2 separate regions of the Homo sapiens genome follow, and region 2 is linked to region 1. The links are contacts of gene promoters, found by promoter capture Hi-C in human tissues and cell types (Jung and others, 2019). All regions are on one chromosome and are shown on one strand. The core of a region is centred on a gene start or on the middle of the fragment in contact, and the rest is flanking DNA. Distances in the headings are between cores, read along the strand shown.

Region 1 (5,182 bases), core at 1,919-4,418:
ATATGCTATTTTAGAGAGGATTTGTTCTAATAGGAAATACTTTGAAATCTGATTAATCTTTATTATTTTTTTAACAAAGTATAACACTAAACATTTATTTCTTTATTGTGAAAGTTTTCACTTTTTAATTGTTTTTGCTTAAACATCGTTGAACCAGTGACTTTTAATGTCATGAAAGAATTTTATAAATTACAAATAATTCTTTAGAAGAGATTATTTAAGGTGGTAATATGAATTATATTAAAAATTTTATAGTAATGGAGGGTAACAGAAATTTTATTTAAATTTGAATATTACAACTTGATGCAGGGCTGGGTGCAGTGGCTCACTCCTGTAATCCCATCACTTTGGGAGGCTGAGGTAGGAGGATCACTTGAGTCCAGGAATTTGAGACCAACCTGGGCAACATTGTGAGACCTCTGTCTCTACAAAAATAAATAAATAAATAAAAATAAATACATAAATAAAATTAGCCAGGTGTGGTTGTGTGCCTGTGGTCCTAGCTACTCAGGAGGCTGAGGTGGGAGGATCACTTGAGTCTGGGAGGTCAAGGCTGCAGTGAGCTATGATGGTGCCACTGCACTCCAGCCACTCCTAACGTCTCCAGGACATTAGGAGACCTTGTCTCAAAACAAAAACAAATAAGAAAACCCTTGATGCCCCCAAATCTAGCTTTTTGAAGAGAAATGAATTGTTTTAATTGTGGAATCCTGCTTCAGAACCTTGGAAGAAGAAAAAGTCTTCATGTAGGAGGTGAGCTTTATGTTCATTTGGGAAATTACATAAACAGCACGGTTGAAAATTTTAATGTGAACAGTAGATTATTTTACTTTAAAGGGAAATCCTCACTGGGCGTGGTGGCTCACGGCCTGTAATCCCAAAACTTTGGGAGGCTGAGGGGGTTGGATCTCTTGAGCCCAGGGGTTCAAGACCAGCCTGGGCACCAATGGCAAAACCCCATCTTTACAAAAAAATCCAAAAAATTAGCCAGGTGTGGTGGTGAGCACCTGTACTCCCAGCTACTTGGGAGGCTAAGGCAGGTGAATTGCTTGAGCTGGAAAGGTGAAGGTTGCAGTGAGCCCAGATGGCAATACTGCACTGCTGGGCAACAAAGCAAGACTCTGTTTCAGAAAAAAAAAAAAAAAAAAAAAAAAAAAAGATAAATCCTTTAACTTGGGTTTAAATTATATTCTATAGGTCTTAGCTTTTATGACAATACTTAGATATAATAAATCTTGGTATTGCTGTGGTGCTAAATAATGACACCCATTTAATAAATCCATTTCCCAGCTGGGCGCAGTGGCTCACGCCTATAATCCCAGCACTTTGAGAGGCTGAGGGGGGCAGATCACTTGAGATCAGGAGTTCGAGACCAGACCGGCCAACATGGTGAAAACCTATCTCCACTAAAAACACAAAATTTAGCTGGGCGTGGTGGCAGGCGCCTGTAATCCTAGCTACTCGGGAGGTTGAGGCAGGAGAATTGCTTGAACCTGGGGGGTGGAGGTTGCAGTGAGCCGAGATCGCGCCACTGCACTCCAGGCTGGGTGACAAGAGTGAAACGCCGTCTCAAAAAAAAAAAAATCCATTTCCCCTTACTAATTAATGTTACTTGCAATTGCAAAATACATTCATGATTCTAGGGAGTGATAGGAAGTGATGGGAGAGGCGGTTAACAGTGTTAGGTGACATAAATAAACGAAGAAATTATTTTGGAATAGAGGCAATGTAGAAAAATGTTAGAAAGTGTTGTTCAATCCTTCACAGGCTTTTCACTGCATGGTACAAAGTTAAGCATTTAAAAATTGGCTATAACCCACTTGGAAGAGGGCATTTGTATGCTTAAAGTGGCCTCAGAAAAGGACAGCAGAGAATTTAGGAAGATTAGCAACTGGACTGTCAGGCGAACTCAGGCTGTTGGCCTCAACTCCAAGAGGGAGCGCAGCTAGGCAAAAGAATACGGATTAAGCGGAAGAGGTTGGAACACCTGTCCAGGCCAGGTAGGGGAGGAGTTTCAATGCTGACAAAGAACCCGTTGGGAGAGCTTCCTAAAACACCCAGCTGTCATGACGCACTGAGGAGTACTCTACTAGTTGACTGTTTTGAAGTGTGTGTGTGTGCGCTTGCTTGCTTTAGGAGACAAGCTATTAATACTAAAGCATATGTTAGGGAGTTGCTCAGCGTACTTGATATCTAGTAGCACCAGCCAAACTAGCTAACAGCCTTTCCATGGAGATAGGCCAGGAAGTAGCTCCATAGAGAAAAAAGGAAGTAGTGGACCTGCCTCCAAGGTTCCGATACTGGGAGGTGAAAGAGATCTGAAGTTCCGAATAAGCTGTTTACACTACCAGAGAAAAATCTGGCTCCCATCCAACCCTCACCCACGAGGTGCCCATTCCAGACATGGGGCAAGCTGCCTTCTCATCTTCCGCAGGTGACAGCTCGGCTCACATTTGTCCACGTCTTCCATCTCGTGCGCTGGCAACATACCTAAATGATTACTGGAAGAGCTGCCTCTTTTTATAATTTCCTGACAGAATTTATAAAATTAAAATATTTAATTAAAGACAGAATCGGGGACATGTTGCCTTCACATTTGCTGTTCAACCTGTGCACATTTTGGTGGTTCCCAAGAATCGTCATGCCAAAGCATCAGGCTTGAAAGGAGAGATCACCTTAAGCATCAAGATTTAAAAAAATAAAACACAACTCTCCTCAGTCTAAACTCTAGGATTTGGATGACGCTTCCCTGTCAAGGTTTCTCCCGAGTGGAGGAGACAAGAGGCAGGAAAGGCAGGTAACTAAAATTGCCTCATGTAAAGGGGCTCAGCGCAGAGGAGGAATGAGATAATAGCGGCGGTGGGGGTCTTTTCCCTTCTCTCCCTTTCTATCTTGGAAACAGGGGTCCGACTGGCAGCGGAGTGGGGGCAGTCCAAGCTCCGGGGTACCTGCAGGAGGAGACTCGACCAGCGAGAGGGGCCAGCGAGGGTGACCAGGTGCCCGCTTGGGGACCCCGCCGGCGGTGGCCAGGCTAGCCCAGGTCCTCCCCGATCCCAGGATGCACTGCGCCCCGCCCCCTCCCCGCGCCGCGTTCCGCCTCCCCTCGGCCCCGGCCCCCTCCCGCCCAGCGCGGGGAGGCGGGGACGCGTCGGCGGCGGAGGCTTCTCCAGTCGCGTCTTTCTCACTCACTGGGGAGCCCGGCGGTGGCGGCACCTTTCGAGGTAGACCCGCTGAGCTGCTAGCCCGCCGGCCAGCGAGTGAGAGGTCGGACAGACTGTGGAGCCGACAGACTGAAGGACAGCGGCACCGCCAGACGGCCAGAAAGTTCCGCCATGAGCTGGGGCACGGAGCTGTGGGTGAGTCGGGGAGAGGGGCGCCCCGCACGGACCCCGGCCCCTGAGAAGCGCGGGTTGGGCGGGCGCCGCGGACCCTCGGCGGTGAAAGCGCGCTCCGCCGTCCTCGGTCCGGCGCTGGCGGAGGGTGAGGGTCCCGCTCGTCTTTGTGTGCAGACTCCTCTTCCCTTCTCGGCCGGGGGTCTAGGGGGCCGCTAGTCCGTGCTCCCGCCTTTGCCGCCGTGGTGCAGCTCGGGCGGCGCCCGGGACGGCCGGGGGAGCAGCCCGCGGGCTCCTGCGTGCGCCGTGATCCCCTCTTGTTCCTTCTCCCTCCTCCACCTTCACTTTTCCCGACGCCTGGCTTCGCGCCCGGCGGCTCCTCTCTTCCTTTGTATCTCTCCTCCCGGAGGCGGGGGAGGGGGCCCATTGTCCCCAAGGGGCGCTGTTCGAGGGCGGGGAGGGGACCGGCCGCGATTCCTCGCCCGGGCCAGGTCCGCGGGGCTAGGGCGTCGCCCGTCTGGGGCGGCGCCGCCCAGAGCCCTCGCCCCAGGTATGGGGACCCAGGCGGCTTTGTTCGGAGCCCGGCCTCGGGCCAGCCAGGCCCAGCCCACACGCACATTTCTCTCTCCCTGCCTCAGTGCTTCGGGCGGGCACAGCTTCGAGGGACTCCGGTTTGGCCACCCCCGGCTGCAGCCTTTGGGCTGGTGGGTTGGTTTTGGGGGCTGAATTAAATCGAGTGATCGATGAGGAAGCTAATTTTACCAAAAGGAGCGTACGGTCTCCCTGTTGCTTTACTTCCCTTTCCGTTCTTTATTCTCACTTGTTCTTTCTCCTTCGTTCTCTCCTTTCCTTTCCTCCTTGCCTTTCTTTGGCACAGGAGGCTCCAGACAATGCCCAGTGTCTGGCCAAGGTACGGGCGGAGGGTAATAGGTCGGAGAATTTGCTCCTGGCGCCGGCGCGGAAGGGTCGAGGTGTGGAGGGCAGTGATTTCTCAGGTGCGGAGGGCAGTGATTTCTCAGGTGCGGCCGGGAGAACTGGGGGCGTGGGGGCGCTGTCCCGAGAGCCGCCTGGCCTCAGCCACTCCCCTTTTTATTCCACCTGTGCCTGTTTTCCGTGCCTTTTGTTCGCGAGGATCTCGTGAAATCACTGCAGAGAAAGGGGAGAAATAACTTTTGAGTATGTGTGTGCCCAGCTAGGGTGGGAGTGAAAGCCAATGGGTTAATTGAAAGGCAAAATGTTTTCTTATTTTTCACGTCTACTCATAGATTGGGAATCTTAGAACTGTGAGACTTTAGAGTCCATCTAGTGAATGCTTTACTTAGCCAGCCAGGAATCTCTTGTGCAACATTCTGTACAAGTGCTTACCCAGTCTGAAAACACACCACCCAAGAGAAAATACCTTAGGAGCCCCTTCATTCCGTTTCTTAGATAGCATTAATTGTTCTTATATTGGGGAGGATTGCATGGTAAATGAATTACATAAAGTTTAATTCTTTTACATTGGTTAGTTTCTCAGGCATTATTGGCCTTTTTCCCTTACACTTTGTGCATTCTATAATTGATTATAGTGAATTATCAATGAAAGGAAATGGGTATAGTTTTATTTTAAATTTTTAAATTTTTTATTTTTTTCATGCCTACCAGAGTGCATTCATTCGTTTTTATAATTACAAAATATTTTAACTTTTGCCTACTTAAATGACTTGTGCTTCAAAGGAAACTAAAATGTAAGTAGAATACTTCTAAAAAGTAAACATAGGAAAACAGTGGAGGCATGTTATTTAGATTTAACTCTTAAGATTTTTAAAAAATTCACTTTGTATCACACTAAAGAATAACAGTTTTAAGGA
Region 2 (5,198 bases), core at 1,940-4,439, 330 kb after region 1:
GGTGCTACACATTAGCATTTTAGTTTCTTAACTTGGACACACCACCAGCTAAGCAATTGCTGCGTCCAGGTAAATTTAATTGAGTTTAACATCCCTCAGTCCTAGAATCTTTCAACGCTAGTGCCTGTGAACTTACCTAACGACCAGAGGCAGGTGAATCTCATGGTGCTGATGCTTTTATCTCTCCTGGGCTGGGGCATCATATAAGAGGGGATTCAAGGGTGTATCAAGCACTCTCAGCCTGGGGGCAGCTGTGTACTTTTGGCTGTGAGTGCTCTCAGAGAGGCACAGAGGTGCTCTCCATAGAGAGGCACCAGGAGCCAGGCATGCTCCTGACCGCTCCAGCCTCTACCTGCCCAGCACGCGCGCGGCTGGTGAGTCACAGTGTGATGCGGACAGGTCCAGGAGGTTTGTTGTGTGCTTGCTTCATATCATAGGGCACTTCCTGTCCTGAGCTGAAAGGAAGGGCTTTTTTAAGAGATGCATATTTTTTAAAAAATTCATTTTCTATATGTGTTCAAGAAGGTGCATGGCAGCATTATCTCTAAGAGGAAATCACTGGAAAAAAAGTGCCTGCCATTCAGGGACCAATTTGAAATAAATACGATTTTCCACATAATGGAATAAAAAAGAGGAGGATGTGTATTTGCTGCTATGAAAATGTCTCTAAGATATATTGCTGGGTGGAAAAAAAGCGAAGTTGCAAACATACTTAGGCTTACAGAAAGGTCCAAATCATGCTTATTTTTGTATATGCTTAGAAAAATGTCTGGAGCAATTCACAAGAAACTTGAAGCAGTGAAGACTCCAGGAAGTAGAACTGGGGAGGAGTGATCTTAATTTTTCTGCACTTTTTGAATTTTCTTTTTGACTCTGTATGTACCTAGGACTTTTATAATAAAAGGGGTTTTGAAAAATTCCTTTCTTGCCTAATGAAAAGTATTCTCGTCAGCTAGCCAGTAGCTTCCAGCAAACAAAAGGTTTCCATCAGCAATCAAGCTGCAGTGAATAAGTTTGAAAAGAGAAACTCAATTTCCTAGGAAAGTATCTAGAATAGAAGATCTCAATGAGGCTGAGGGAGGGAGGTATCCTCAGCAGTATCTGGTAGGTTCTGATACTTCCCAAGCTGAGAAGCATTAACTAAACATACTGCATGTTAATTCTTTCTAATTTTATAGGATAGAAAATGTCCGCATATGAAGCAGAGATAATAATATAATGAACCCCCATGTCCCCACCACCAAGTTTCATTAATTAACTTGGCTAACTTTGTTTCATAGCCAACCCACGCCCTACTGTCTTCCCACCCCCAAACATGCCATTTTATCTGCGGAAATGTACTACTGTAAGTTAAAGACTCTCCCCTTTGTAAACATTACCACAATATAATTAAGTTTTTTAAACTGTCGATAAGCCATTATTTTATTAAATATCTAGTAAGTATTCAAATTTTCAAACAAAATCTATATATTGTATTTGGTTGTTACGTCTATTATGTCCATTTTATTATAATTTACAGAGCTCTCTCCTGGAATTTCCTTGCAATTTATTTGTTGAAGAAACCAAGTTATTAGTCCTGTAGAGTTTCCCACATTCTGGATCTTGCTGATTCTACTGCCTGTGGTATTTTTTAACATGCCTTTTTGTACTCTCTACTTCCTGTAAATTGGTAGGTAGATCTAGACTTACTCTGATTTATGTCTAATTCTTTGCCAATAGGTGGTATGCTCTGCCAGAAAATAAAGTCTTATGTCTTCCTATTTGTGATCTAGGCTGCCCTTGATGATTATTACGGGTTGAACTATGTTCCCCAAAAGGATATGTTGAACATTTACCCACCAACGCTGTGCCTGTGATCGTGACCTCATTTGGAAACAGGGTTCTTACAGATGGAATCAGGTTAAAATGAGGTCATACTGGATTAGGGTGGGCCTTGATTCAGTCCTTATAAGAGGACAATTTGAACACAGATAGACACAGGGAGAAGACAGCCATGTGACCATGGAGGCAGAGAAGGGAGTGATGGTTCTACAAGCAGAGGAATGCTGAGGATTGCTTGCTGGCAAACAAAAGGAAGAATTCTTTTCTAGAGGCTTCAGAGGAACACAGCCCTGTCAGTATTTTGATTTCTGATTTCAGCCTCCAGAGCTGCGAGACAATAAATTTCTGTTGTTTTAAGCCACCTGGTTTGTGGTACATTGTTATGGCAGCCATAGGAAACTAATACAATTATTGATACCCAGAATTATTATTTATTTAAGAGCTTGCAAATAATATTTCTTCTGCTTTCTTCTTCCTCCTCTTCTTCTTCTTCCTCCTCTTCTTCTTCCTCTTCTTCCTCTTCCTCCTCCTCTTCCTCCTCCTCTTCCTCCTCCTCCTCTTCCTCCTCCTCCTCTTCCTCCTCCTCTTCTTCCTCCTCCTCCTTCCTCTTCCTCCACCTCCTCCTCCTCCACCTCTTCCTCTTCTTCTTTCCTTCTCCTCTTCCTCCTCCTCCTCCTCCACGGGCATGCACCACTGTGCCTGGCTAATTTAAAATTTTTTTTTGTAGAGATGGGGGTCTCGCTAGGTTGCCCAGGCTGGTGGCAAACTCCTGGGCTCAAACAATCCTCCTGCCTTGGCCTCTCAGAGTGCTGGGATTACAGGCATGAGCCACCACACCTGGCCCAATATTTCTTCTAAATTATTGGCTGGAATACTCCTATAGAAAGAAACATTCCCTTCTCCACTATTTGGTTACCCTGAGGTTCAATTTATATGGCAAATGTAGATTCCTTTGCTTTGCTTTCCTGTTTTCAGAATAATGAGTTGGTTCCCCAGTATTATCCAAAGGTGAACAATGGTCTTTATTTTTCTTTTTTGAACATCATTATAAACTTGTGAATTTCCAACAGAATTCATGTGGATTTCAGTCCTTTTTAGTTATTCTTATTCATATTAACATTGTCCCATTTGTGGCCAGTGAGAGCCTTGACAAGTTGACTTCTGAGTCCTGTTGACATGACCCCAGGGATCTCTGACACTTCCCTCACTATCTGGTATATCATGGTGTTTAAGCTTCATCATATGCAATTCCTCCTCTGGACCATCCATTTCTGAAATAAACCCTGGTTCCATTTGGTGGGAAGCATAATTTAGAGACTACAAACCGGTACTAGGGGCATGGACTGCATTTGACTGGTCATTGTTTCTAGGCCTTAATAGTGGTCAGAGATAGGAAACAGATTTAAGATAAGAAAATGTATCATTAGTTTACACTAATATATTTTATTCAAATTTAAAATTACAGAATTTTTACAATTTTAAAAATTTTATATTTGCATCTCTTATGGTGAAGAATCTTGGTTTCTATCAACATTAGCCTAATTACTTATTTGCTCTATCCTATTATATATATAGTGAATAGTATCAGAATAATAATACCAATATTATTACCAGCAATCTGATTACTAAAATCATGGAGTCCTTTTTTTTTTCCTTTTGCCAACCAAACCAGCAGCAGCAGTGAAAGGGAGTTATTTTTGCCTTAGGATAATCTGTTTCTAACGCTTGTTGCAGCCCTGGTTTTACCCACTACTCACACCTCCTACTGGGTTCCCAGCCACCTGCCAGTTCTGGCTCCTCCAACAAGACCCACTTCTCTAGGATCAGGGATTTTCCCTGCTGTCTACTTTTCTCCAACCCTTCTTTGCTCAGCTGAATCCTACTCATCCTGCAGTTTAATACTCAGGTATCATTTCTCGAGGGAAGCCTTTCTGAAGGTAGCACCTCCCCTGTTGTGGTTCTCATTAAACCATTATACAATCACATATTTAATTATCAATTCCCTCACAATATATAGGCTCTTGGAGAAAGGAGGGTGTCTGTCTTTGTTATTGAAAGCCTCAAGCTTTGGTGTGGGGTCATGGTAGGAGCTCAATTTTCTGATACTAATCTCAGGTTCTGATATCTTGGCCAACATCAGAAAAAGCAGTTGAGGAGGATGGGAGGAGGCAAGATGGGAGGAGGAGTGGTGAAGGCAAACAGCTGAGTTTCAAACAGTCAGAGTTTATTGTCTAAAACTTTGAGGGAGAAGCGCCGATGCTGAGTTTTAGGCAATTCACTTTTGTATAGGAAGCATGGTGAAGATAGGCCACCTAATGATTAACAAAATCGTTAGAGTAGCAACAACTTCTAATTGAAAGATGCCATTCCTGAGGTCCAATGACTTGGCCAGGGCCAAGTCATTCATTCATTCATTTGCCCACAGCTGTTTATTGAGCTGTGTTGTATGCCAGGCACTATTTTCAGCAGTGGAGAATAGGGTAGAGAACAAAAGGAAACTCCTAACCTCATGTGGCTTACATTCTAGTGAGAATGACAGGTACCAACTAATAAACAAATAAGGATGAGTCGGTGGACATAAGTAAAATGAAGAAAAATAAAGCATGGCAAGAGGATAGTGAGTGATGAGTAGGGCTATTTGGGTATTGGGATCAGAGAAGACCCCTCTTTGAGGGAAACTTGGTTGAAAAAGAAAGTGAGCCATGCAGATACCTAGGGGAAGGGTGTTCCAGGGTAGCATTAGTCATGTTGACAGAATGTCATTAGAAACCTGAGCCTCTTCCTTCAGCGCTTTAAGTAATTGCTTAGTGCGTAAGTTGTTCAGGAAATGAGAACAAACTTAACAATGCACGTACTCCTGGATAGCAGACATTCTGCTAAAGGATTTTGCAGCAAGGGAATGGTATGTGGCAGCTGCAATACCCACCTCCAGCCCAGCAGGGCCTCTCATGCCCACCTCTTCCCTCCTCCCCCAATCCCAGGATGTGAACAACATGACCCCAGTGCTTCATTTACAATTTGGGACCAGCTAATCCTAGGTGACTCCGGTTCCTGTTGCCCTTGGCCTCCACCCAAAAGGTAAACCCCTCAGGACATGTCTTCTCATCCTCAAACCCACATTGTTTCCAACCTCCTTCCCACTGACCTCATCCCCCACTGCTCCTGGAATTCCCTCCCACCCTCAGGGCCTGCTTAAGGTAGACAACACCCAAACCTCAGCCTTTTCTTTTCTGTTCCCTTACAGGACTCCTCTGTGGCCTTCCTTTGCCACCTTTTTCATGGAAGGCTGCTCATTTTCCCACATCCTGTGGGGACTCAGAAGCGATCAGCATTGTCCTAGCTCCCCTGATACTTTGCTCAACTCTCCTTTGTACAAA

The links. The method cuts DNA at HindIII sites, captures the fragments that hold promoters and counts their contacts. A contact is called where the count stands out against the background at its distance.
Region 2: a contact is called between a fragment that was not itself captured here and the fragment with the promoter of FNBP1L in region 1, in 1 of the 25 tissues and cell types used here (H1 embryonic stem cells).

What each region holds. Positions count from the first base shown.
Region 1 is chr1:93,444,950-93,450,131 of GRCh38, forward strand. It overlaps FNBP1L (formin binding protein 1 like), which reads left to right and starts at 3,169. Exons shown (of 17, transcript NM_001164473.3): 1 at 3,169-3,356. The coding sequence starts at 3,333. RefSeq lists silencers at 2,043-2,337, 3,277-3,326 and an enhancer at 2,818-3,796. The HindIII fragment of the contact is 21,665 bases long and covers 1-5,182 here.
Region 2 is chr1:93,775,061-93,780,258 of GRCh38, forward strand. It overlaps a transcript of BCAR3 not described here. Among named protein-coding and RNA genes, the nearest start is that of MIR760, 69 kb to the right of the region's middle. The HindIII fragment of the contact is 3,593 bases long and covers 1,394-4,986 here.